Regions from separate parts of the Homo sapiens genome. Here region 2 is linked to region 1. The links are contacts of gene promoters, found by promoter capture Hi-C in human tissues and cell types (Jung and others, 2019). All regions are on one chromosome and are shown on one strand. The core of a region is centred on a gene start or on the middle of the fragment in contact, and the rest is flanking DNA. Distances in the headings are between cores, read along the strand shown. Region 1 holds the start of RANBP3L (RAN binding protein 3 like). Region 2 overlaps SKP2 (S-phase kinase associated protein 2).

Evidence for each region. The method cuts DNA at HindIII sites, captures the fragments that hold promoters and counts their contacts. A contact is called where the count stands out against the background at its distance.
Region 2: a fragment that was not itself captured here is called in contact with the fragment with the promoter of RANBP3L in region 1 in 1 of the 25 tissues and cell types used here (mesenchymal stem cells).

Annotation. Positions count from the first base shown.
Region 1 is chr5:36,297,696-36,303,345 of GRCh38, forward strand. It overlaps RANBP3L (RAN binding protein 3 like), which reads right to left and starts at 4,207. Exons shown (of 14, transcript NM_145000.5): 1 at 3,631-4,207. The coding sequence starts at 3,721. All of the region lies in intron 1 of LOC124900962 (a long non-coding RNA gene), which reads left to right. The HindIII fragment of the contact is 10,640 bases long and covers 1,836-5,650 here.
Region 2 is chr5:36,164,709-36,170,318 of GRCh38, forward strand. SKP2 (S-phase kinase associated protein 2) reads left to right here. Exons shown (of 10, transcript NM_005983.4): 4 at 1,811-1,954; 5 at 3,605-3,739. Among named protein-coding and RNA genes, the nearest start is that of SKP2, 15 kb to the left of the region's middle. The HindIII fragment of the contact is 5,640 bases long and covers 1,436-5,610 here.

The DNA.
Region 1 (5,650 bases), core at 2,957-5,456:
AAAAATATCACAGGAGAAGCTAGAAGATAGCAACAAGTTGGGAGATGAGCCTCCTGGACTTGTGTTCTGGACTGATAGAGCATTTGTTGTCATAGTAAACTCCACGTGGACAGAAAACCATGGCTTAGTTGTCTTAGTTCAATTTGCATACTCAGCATCTAGCACAACACTTTGCACCTTGTTGTTGCCCAGATAACTGCTGAAGAATAAGTGATTTTTATCTATGTAATCACTTCAAAATTACACTTCTGTGAGTGACTAGGTGGAAGGACACGAAGCATTTTAGCATATGGCATGGGGGGTTAGAAAATATATATGTGTTGAGGTCAGTGCGGTGGCTTATGCTTGTAATCCCAGCACTTTGGGAGGCCGAGGTGGGAAGATCATGAGGTCAGGAGTTCGAGACCAGCCTCACCAATATGGTGAAACCCCCGTCTCTACTAAAAATAAAAAAATTAGCCAGGCATGGTGGAGTGTGCCTGTAGTCCGAGCTACTCAGGAGACGGAGGCAGAAGAATCACTTGAACCCGGGAGGCAGAGGTTGCAGTGAGCCGAGATCATGCCACTGCACTCCAGCCTGGGTGACAGAGTGAGACTCCATCTTAAAAAAAAAAAAAAAAAGGAAAAGAAAATATGTATGTGTTGAAGCTAGTCACGCCTACAGAAGTGTCGAATGTCAATTAATCATAGTCTGTATGCTAAATAATAGAGGCAGAACTTTAGGCTGGCTGGGGAAAGGCCAAAGCCGTGAACCCAGGATGATTCCATGAATAAAGCCAGACCTCACTCTCTAAAACAAATGGCTTTGCTTCCTGGGACCTTTGCTGAACTTCACATAATAGCAAGGTGCAAAAATAGCTTGGAGGAAAAAGCAGGGCCACTGCTCTGAATGAATACTTTAAAACTCCAGGACAGTAACTGGAATGCAATTTAGCAACACAGCAAATACTACCCAGCTCAAATCACTAGATGATATTTCTTGCAGCAATCAATGGCCAGTCTGGACTGCATTAGCATGCTTCACAACTTTATGGATTGTGGCTTATGTGGGCAGATATTTTGAGACTTGGGTGTGGAAGAATATGCTTGCTTTCAAAACATTCTAGGCAAAAAGCTAAGTCTGAGAAAGAAGACCAGTCTTGTGGGTATTTTGGGAAGTATGTCATCATAGTGATTATTTCCAGGCTTCTCTGGATATTGCCAGTGTGATGGTTCATGCTGAGTGTCAACTTGATTGGATTGAAGGATACAAAGTATTGATCCTGGGTGTGTCTGTGAGGGCGTTGCCAAAAGAGATTAGCATTTAAGTCACTGGGCTGGGGAAGGCAGATCCACCCTTAATCTAGTGGGCACAATCTAATCAGCTGCCAGCAAATACAAAGCAGGCAAAAAAACGTGAAAAGGTGACTGGCCTAGCCTCCCAGCCTACATCTTTCTCTCTTGCTATTTGTCCTTGAACATTGGATTCCAAGTTCTTCAGTTTTGGGAGTCAGACTGGCTCTCCTTGCTCCTCAGTTTGCAGACAGCCTATTGTGGGACCTTGTGACTGTGTAAGTTAATACTTAATAAACTCATCTTTATATACATATACACACATATATACACATACGTATATCTGTATATATATACACATACATATATGTGTGTGTGTGTGTGTGTGTGTGTGTGTGTATATATCCTATTAGTTCTGTCCCTCTAGAGAACTTTGATTAATACAGCCAGTAAAGGAGAGATCTTCAGGATAGCCTGGCTTAAAACAATAGTGGGGTATTATTTTTCACCTATAAAATTGAGAAGGAGTTTAAAAAATAATAGTATTACTGAGAACATACCCCAACACTGCTGATAGGAGGGTCACTTGGCCAAAAACAATTTTTAAGAATGTATAATCCTTTGACTCCACAATTTCACTTCTAAGAATTTATGCGAAGAAAATAATCCCATATCAGTGCAAAGATCTATTCATTAGTTTAGGTGCAGTCCAGTGTTAATTATAATAGTTAAAATATTAGAAATAAATAATATATCTAACAGTAGAGAATTGCCTAAGGGAATTTTGCTACATCCATATAAAGGAACAGTGTGCAACTGTTAAAAATAAGGTTGTAGAAGAATATTTAATGACCTGGAAATTTGTTCATCCTCTGTCATTAAATTAAAAAGCAGTTTACAAAACACTGTTTACAAAAGTATCCAGAACAAGTCTATATTGTTTAAAAAGCAAGCAAAGGAATAATCCATACAAGTGCATAGAAGAAAAGTCTAGAAGTTTATACATTAAAATGTTAATAGCAATTATCTTTGGGTGGTGGGGTTACAGGTGACTTCTTTAGGCTCACCCCCACCAAATTTTCTATTAAAATTATCATATTAGCAATTGAAGTGGGGGGAAGTCACTTTAACATTTCATACAAAGTCAACAGAAAACAAAAACCTCTGATAAACTAGAATTGTTTACTAACAGAGAAGCAAGAGCATTTTACAGTGCTATGCCTTAACCCTGACACATTCCAGGACTTTACATTCTAGGGTACTTGGTTCAAAATTTATTTGAGCACTAGTAGTAAAGCATGGTCTAAAAGTTCACATTGTTTTCATTTACCATGAAGTATTTTCTGCCGACACTATGCTAAGCCTTGTAGAGCATGAAGTCATGTTATACAGCTCCAGGAACCGATGCAGAGAGGTGGCCTGACACATTCATGTGACTGTTAGCACACAGATTCCATCTTGGAAATGGGAGGTTTTGGCCCTTTAGCCAACACTCTCCACACCACTGAAATCTAAAACTGCGTCTACAGAAAAATAATTAAAGAGCTCATTGCCTAGACCTACACATAAAAAGATCTATCCTAGGTTATTGAGGAGAAGTTAGAAGTGTCTGGTGAATCCTTAACCTCTGTGGAGTGATGATGTCATCCATGAGAGACCCAGCCTTTCCCACAAGTGTCATTTGCTGTCCCTGACAGGGTGGATTGGAGGGATCATCTTGTCTATTCATGTCAACCATCTGACACTAACTCAGCTGGCTGGAGAGTGGATTTGAAAATTTAAAAAGACTGATGGTGAAAATGGCTGGGAGGTAGATAGTTTAGTTTGAATGAGTGCCCAGCAAGTGAAATGTGACACTTTTCCCTGACTGTCTCCAGATGTCCCTGGACCATAAAAAGGAAAGAGTCAAGAATATATTTATTTTTCCCACAATGAATGAGCCAGAGATCCAGACAAACTTAGGCTTAAACAAAGTGAAAAAAGTGTCCCACCAGTGGTACTATGGTAGAGAAAGCTCCAGGCTAACTTAAAGCTACTCTCAGCTGAAATCCCCCTTGTAGCTGACTCAGCCTTGCTCAGATGGGTGTTTTGAATTAGACAAAATCTAGCATACTCTAAAAAACACAGTGGCTAGAAGTTTAAGCATGTAAGTTTCAGAATGACAGCTCCAAGGAATATGCATTCTTGACAGTCTTCCATAGTCCTCTAAAAATCAATAGTGAATCCAAGTTAACCCACCCTTATGCATCACTATTATGTCAGAGCTTCCCCGGGTCCTTCACCAGCCCACCATTCTTCCTGGAATGCAAATGCACAGAAGGTCACAGAATATGCAACTCATGAGCTGGACGGACTCACCTTGCTGTCGCCGGTCCTCCTGCAGCTTCAGTTTACAGGTGTGCAAACTGCCAGGCAGGTGGCTGCTGCCTTTTCTTGGTATGGTAGTCATGGTCCTAGCAGTATGGCTGTGACTCAAGGATCACTAGGGCACCTCCTTCTCTGGCCAGTCACCTAAAGTGGCCTTCACCAGACACCCAGAAATACATAGATTCATGCAGATCTTGTCTTTGCATGTACAACATATACTCCTCTACTAAACTTCCAAGCTTTTTCCAGTCATGATTCTTGAAATAAATAATCACCAATGTTACTTCTCCTAAATATAAAGATGCCAATTCATTTGGTTAAAAACACAACTTAATTCCTTCATTTCAAAACAAATTGAAACTAAACCTCCTTATAGAGTAAAATTCTACAAATTAACTATTTCTAACAGATTACACTTTTGTCATTTTTAAATTCCTTTTGGCGACATGAAATCCAATGCCTCCAGTATTTAGAGAAGGCTGCTAAAATAATACAGACACAAAGAAAAGAAAAAGTGCTGCTGAGTTAAGTCAAGTGATTTCTAAGCCTGATCTGAGTTACCCTCTGTGACAGCTGAAAGTGTACAGTTCTTAAGGGACTCTGGAAGGAGGAGGAGCAAAGTGGGCTAGGATGATTAGCATAAAGAGGCAGGCAAGACGGGCATTGGAGCTGCTTTGAATAATAGTGAACAAAGCACAGATTCTAAAGATGCCCTGCCCTTATGTTACAGTAACTGAGTACCTGATTTCTGCTACTTTGTTTGTAATTAAAATGCAAGCTGAAAGCAGGAGTTTATACTGCAAGGACATTCATTTGTGCATGTGAAATCTAAAAGGTATAAATGGAACTGGTAATGAGCTCATGGAAATGTACTGCTGGAACTTTCAATTTCTGTAAACACCTCCTAGTCTTCGGAAGGGAGCAGTTAGAGGGCAGCCTTCCTGCCAAGGCAACTATTTGGAGTTCTGGAAGAAAAATAAACACACAAAACATTATCTTTCCAGAGTCCTATTTCTGTTTCCCACTTAGAGTTCTTATTGCTACTTCTAGGTCATAGGAGAAAGTAATTTCCAGTTTTACTCGTTGGCTATTTCCTTACTGTTTGGAAACATAAACCCCAAACACCATTAATTTAACTTGAGAGCTTGCCATAACTGAAGTCATAATGAATGCTGGTAGGTCCTGCCCTTCAAGAGTCACAGCTCTTCGCAGATTCAGAAAGAAGGTAGTGGGCAGGACTAAGGAGAAAGGCAGAGCTGTTTAGCCTCGAAGTCTGGACTCTGCAGCTTCTTATGTGCATTTGGAAATTGGTGTTAAACTTGACACTGTAATGAATTTACCTCCTAACCAGATCTGGGTGGCTGCCCTCATTTTACTTTGAGGCAATTAACAATTCCCCAAGTATAGTCTGGTTTATGAAAATTTTTATGAAGTAGGTGATTGATCTTTTATAATTCTTGAATGCTTTAATTGTTTCAGTAGTCTATCTACTGCAGTTTTAGGCTAATCACAGTGTAACAGATGACAGAAGTGTTGTGCTACTTTGAAAGAGAGTCTTGTTATTGGAGAGTCATAGTTTCTACTTTAAATGTCTGCTATTCATCTCATCTTCCACAAAAGCCATGGTGGAGAGACAAGGTGATTTTTCCTGAATATGTAAAGTTATTGTTATTCTATCAAGTTATGTACCTCACTAATAAGCATATTATTATACAGGTAAGTTAAATAACCTACAAAACTGTAAGCCAGCCCTTTTGAGAAATACATTTAAAATGTTTTATGATGAAAAAATTTAAAAATACATGAATAGGAGAGAATAGCACAATAAGCCCTGCATACTCATCACTTGGCTTCAATATTATCAACTCATAGACAATCGTGTCTTAAAACTATGTGTTTCATTATAGCTGTTCTCCCCCTTATTACACCACTGGAGTTGAAGCATCCAGACATCATTGCATTAATAAATATTTCAGTGTATATTTCTAAAATGTGAGGATTTAAAAATAGA
Region 2 (5,610 bases), core at 3,006-5,505, 130 kb before region 1:
ACCCTCACCGCACTCAACCCCACTTTGGTTTTCTTTTTCTGCCAGCTATGCATTTATCCTCTTCTTGCAGAGTCTGTTAATCCCATTTTAAAATTTTATTGTATATATTTAAGGTATACAGCATGATATTTTGTTATAAGTATGTGAAATGGCTGCTATCATTAACATATTCATTATCTCACATAGTTACCTATTTTTTGTGGCAAAAGCACCTAAAATTTACTCTTTTAGCAAACATTCTGACTACAATACAGTATTATCGACTCTAGTTCTCCTGTTGTATACTATATCTTGGGATGTGTTCATCCTGCATATCTGTGGCTTTGTATTCTTTGACCTACATCTCCCTTAGAGTCTGTTAAACTTCATCTCAGTTGTCATAAAAGTAATTACTGACATTTATTAAGCACTTGCTTTGTGACAGGTGCAGTGTTTGCAATTTAATCCTCCATATGATTTTAAGTGATGGTGTTTGTGTCATCTCAGCTTCAGAGGTGAGGAAACTGCAGGGTCAGGAATAGTAGGTTGAGAGATAAGTGGAAAGGCAGGAATCTAAAGTTTGGCTAACTCCACGGTCTTAACCATCATACCATATCTAGTTATGCTTGGCTTAGGGTTCAGGTAGCTCCCAAATTCATTTTTCTGTGAGGTGTTCATCTTCCTAAAAAATGTATATTATTTGGAAAGAAAATGAATTGTTCCAAAACTTCTCCCAGGTTGTTGTTATTGAATGCTGGTTAAGCTATAGTTTGCCTTCTTGCAAGAGGAAACATCAAGCATGAGATTCAAGACAACCAGAGCAGTGCTGATCTGGTGTCAATACCAATACCTTGGAGGCCAAAATGGATTTCTGTCTGGGCAAGAAAGATACAAAAGTGTGCCACTCTCTTAAGGATATCTTATCTACAGTCCACCTTTTTAATGATAGATTTGTCACACAAATCACACTGACAATTTTTTTATGATGAAGTTATTTCATAACTCTGGCCAGTGGTCCACTTATTTCAAGCACTATTAAAAAAGAAAATTCTAGTACACCTAAGCATTTAAAATGTTCCTTCATGTGCTTATATTTCACATTTTCTTTTTTTAAATTGAATTAAACTATGGATATTAAAACCCTCTTACTGTGCTATTCAGTACGTTTTTAGAACATCCCTTTTGTTTTAGAAACACCATCTATAATCCGTTGTATTTTTCCCTTATTTCACATTAGTTCATACACACACATATGTACACATACATATACACGTGTATGTTTTAAGCTTCAAATATATTATAAGGCACAGCTGAACCATGACTGTTGCTATTGAATATCTATGACAGCCTTATTTCATAATAAAATAATGCTAACTTTCGTTCCTTTAGTAATTTTCCATGTTGCTACAGTAATCATAATTGCTTGACAAAAGTGTCAAATAGATTTAAAACTTCTTAGAGGATCCTATTTGCCTAGTAATATAATAATTAATTGATTTGAGCAATCATTTTTTAAATTTGTCAACTTGAATGCTGGAATATGATTCTCTGGTTCTAGATCACGGCAGTGCTAATGTTCACATTGAACCATCTAAATTGGAAGTATATAGAAAGAGAAAGATGGAAGCTTATCCCTGGTGAAATCAAGAAAAATTCTCTAGTGCCTTAAAAATATCATAGCTAATTGTATAGCCAACTTAAAAACAAAAGTTCTTTTAGAATATGCTTCAAGGAGATTTAGCAGCAGTGTCCTACCTGTTAGTAATGTTGTTGAGGGCTTCCAGCATTTAGTGTGACCGACTGGCCAAATTAAGTATCTCCTCTTTTATAGGTCTGATGAGTCTCTATGGCAGACCTTAGACCTCACAGGTAAAAATCTGCACCCGGATGTGACTGGTCGGTTGCTGTCTCAAGGGGTGATTGCCTTCCGCTGCCCACGATCATTTATGGACCAACCATTGGCTGAACATTTCAGGTAAAGATGAAAAATCCCTGGAAAAGACTATTTCTAAATTTCGAGGTAGAAACAGATCAAAGCTTTTTTTTTTTTTTTCTTTCTTCAGCCTTAAAGCCTATGGTAGGTTATCTGTGCAGTGTGGGATGTTAATTCCATACTTTGCTATGGGGCCTTTGTGCTAAAACCTAGCATAGATTTCAATGACACTGTTCCCATTTCACTCAAGTTTACTGTTAGTCTCTTCCCAGGGTGAAAGAGGCACATTTGTCTTCTCAAGTCCTCAGCTGATAGGGGGACTGTGAGTCCCACAAGGCAGGCACAAGTAAAGCACTCACTGGCAGATGCAAGGGTGCCCAGTTACTTCCCCAATGCCCATTTCTGATAAATAAAAAAAAGTGAGGAGTCTTTTCATGTTTGTAGCTTGGGGTTTATGATTTTTGTCTTGGAGAAATTTGGAACCTGAAAAAAATGCCCTCTTTTTGTTTGTTTTGTAGAATATTTTGAAAAAGAATTTTCTGTTCTGATAATTTTGCAATACTGAGGTTACTGCTATCACATAGTAGAATAACTAGGTACTGAACAGAAAAACAAGCTGAAGACAACAAAGCTAAAGATAAAACATGTCTCCTGACTCCAGTACTTTTTCCCTTCTTTCCGTAGTCAGGACCGCCTCTCCCACTGCTTTTTATCCTGTTCCTCCTGTGGCTGTTCCTTCTCAGTCTCCTTCACATATGTGATTTCCTCTGTTCACTCCAGGGTCGGTTCCTGGCTGCCACCTTTTTCAAATCCAAATGCTGTCCCTGGACAAGCTGTGTCCTCTACACCCACATTTATGCCCAGGACTCTCAGTTCCTCATCTATAGCTTGGCCCTCCCTTTCAAATTCCCAAATTTCTAATTACCTAAAAACGTCTGTACCTGAATTTCTTACAAGGACTTCAATATTAGCATAACTCAAATTTGGCCTCCCTTTTTTTTTATTGTTTTTGTTTTTTGAGACGGAGTCTTGCTGTGTCACCCAGGCTGGAGTGCAGTGGCGTGATCTCGGCTCATTGCAACCTCTGCCTGCCAGGTTCAAGCAATTCTGCCTCAGCCTCTCGAGCACCTGGGGACTACAGGTGTGCGCCACCACGCCCAACTAATTTTTTGTATTTTTAGTAGAGACTGGGTTTCACCATGCTGGCCAGGCTGGTCTTGATATCCTGACATCGTGATCCACTGGACTCAGCCTTTCAAAGTGTTGTGATTACAGGCGTGAGCCACTGCGCCCAGCCTGGTCTCCCTTTAAAACTTTCTCTTCCGCTACCTTCCCTGTTCTATTGCTGCTCACCCACTCACCCCTGCCAGAAACCAGGAGCCGTTATGGTCTTAATCTCCTTGTCACCCACATCCAGCTCATTGTTGTGATGCCCACTCGTTATTTTCTAAGTGGGACTATATTGGCAGCAACATCTGTACTTGGCAAAAATCCTCTTGCATTTTAAAATGAATGAAGATGGGAATACACTAGTAGCAATATGTTTTATGACCCTATAGTTAATGCTTGAAGTATGTATTTAGAGTCTTGTTTGTGATTGGCTGCTCATTTGGGGAGAAGAGGGGTCTGGTTTGAAATTGGATGTACCCGTGAGAGCCACCTATGGAGCTCCTTTTTTCTCTCCGTGTTTAGCCCTTTTCGTGTACAGCACATGGACCTATCGAACTCAGTTATAGAAGTGTCCACCCTCCACGGCATACTGTCTCAGTGTTCCAAGTTGCAGAATCTAAGCCTGGAAGGCCTGCGGCTTTCGGATCCCATTGTCAAGTGAGTGGCAGGCAGAGTGTCACAAAGGCAGTTGATTTTATGTGTATGAATTTTTTTCCCTGTATATAACTGGGGTGCCCTTCTAGCCATATCCAGGTGGATACAGAAAATATCTAGTGCAGTGCTCTAGCTTCTGCAAAACTTTTCAGGACTCATTGAAGCAACAAAAGCTTGAATGCTAACTATATGCCAGGCCCTGTGCTAGGTTCTAGAGATACAAGTACAAGGATGAACAATGCATGTGTATTATTTGGGAAGAAAATGAATGCTCTAAAACTTTTCCCACCTTGTTAGTGAATGCTGGTTAAGCTATAGTTTACCTTCTTGCAAGAGGAAACATTGAGCAAGACATGTCTATTTTCTCTTGCAAGAAGGTAAACTATTTATGAGCAAGACAGATAATTACCATGCAGTGTGTTTATTAAATGTTTCAGTGAATATGTGGCAACACACGAGGAGCCGCCTTGTTAGAGGAAGTGACTCTTGAGTATTGAAGATATCTAGGTAGGAGATCTCTAGGTAATAAGACAAAGCAACCAGTCTAGGTAAAACTTCCTGTGTGGTTCTAAACTCTTACGTAGTTGGAAGTTGCTGGAGCACAGGACTAAGGGAGGAGAGTGACAAGGTGAGGAGAGTCAGGGACCAGATTGTAATGGGCCCCTACGCCTTGCTGTAAGAAGAATGGACTGGACTCTTCCATTAAGAGGGAAGCATGGGCCAGGTGTGGTGGCTCACACCTGTAATCCCAGCACTTTGGGAGGCTAAGGTGGGCAGATCACCTGAGGTTGGGAGTTTGAGACCAGCCTGGCCAACATGGTGAAATCCTGTCTCTACTAAAAATACAAAAATTAGCTGGGTGTGGTGGCAGGCACCTGTAATCCCAGCTACTCAGGAGGCTGAGGCAGGAGAATCGCTTGAACCCGGGAGGCGGAGGTTGCCATGAGCTGAGACCACAACATTGCACTCCAGCCTAGGTGACAAGAGCAAAACTCCATCTGAAAAAAAAATAAAAAAAGGGAAGGATGGTGGAGAGAGTTGTTCTGAGAATGGAAGGAACAAGTCAAGAGTTGAAATTTAGGAAATTAACTTGCCAGGTACCATGGAGGGTCCATCGAGGATAGAAGAAGCTAGAGTAGTTAAGGATACTGCTGTGTTCGTTCAAGTGAGAAAAGGTGAAGTCTGATATAAAACAGATAGCAGTAATAGCAGCTAATGTTTTGGGGCATGTATTATGTGCCAGATAGTGAATTTTGTAAATGCATTTTCATTTAATTCTGACAGCAACCCTATGAAGTGTGATCTTGTTTCCTTTTTATAGTTGTGGAAACTGAGACACAGGGAGACTGAGTAAGTCTTTTCCAGGGTCACATTGTTAGTAGGTGGCTGAACCAACATGTGAACCTAGTGATACAATATTCCAGAATTCTTACTCTTAATCACTAAGTTTTACTAACACAGGGCATTTGGGGATGTATTAGAGAAGATGGCAAATTTGAGAGATGTATAATCAAAAGAACCTGGTGATTTTACAAGTAGATGTTTGCAAGCTAATTCTAATTATGGGTGAAATGGATATATGTTTATTCCATTGTCTTTTTAATTCAAAAAGTACATTGATTGATATTCTTGTGTATTTGCTTCATAGTAAGTCTTTTATTACATTATATCATTTAATCTTCTTAATAACTCTGCCAAGAAGTTTGATAATACCATTTCACAAATGAGTAAACTGAGGCAAATTATCCTGTTTGATGTCTGAGAGATAGTGATATACATTTTAAACTCACTGACTCAAAGACCTGTGAGCTTAACTACACTCGCCTGCTTTCATCTAAATGTTGTTGATGAATAGTGTCTTACTGGTCTTTTTC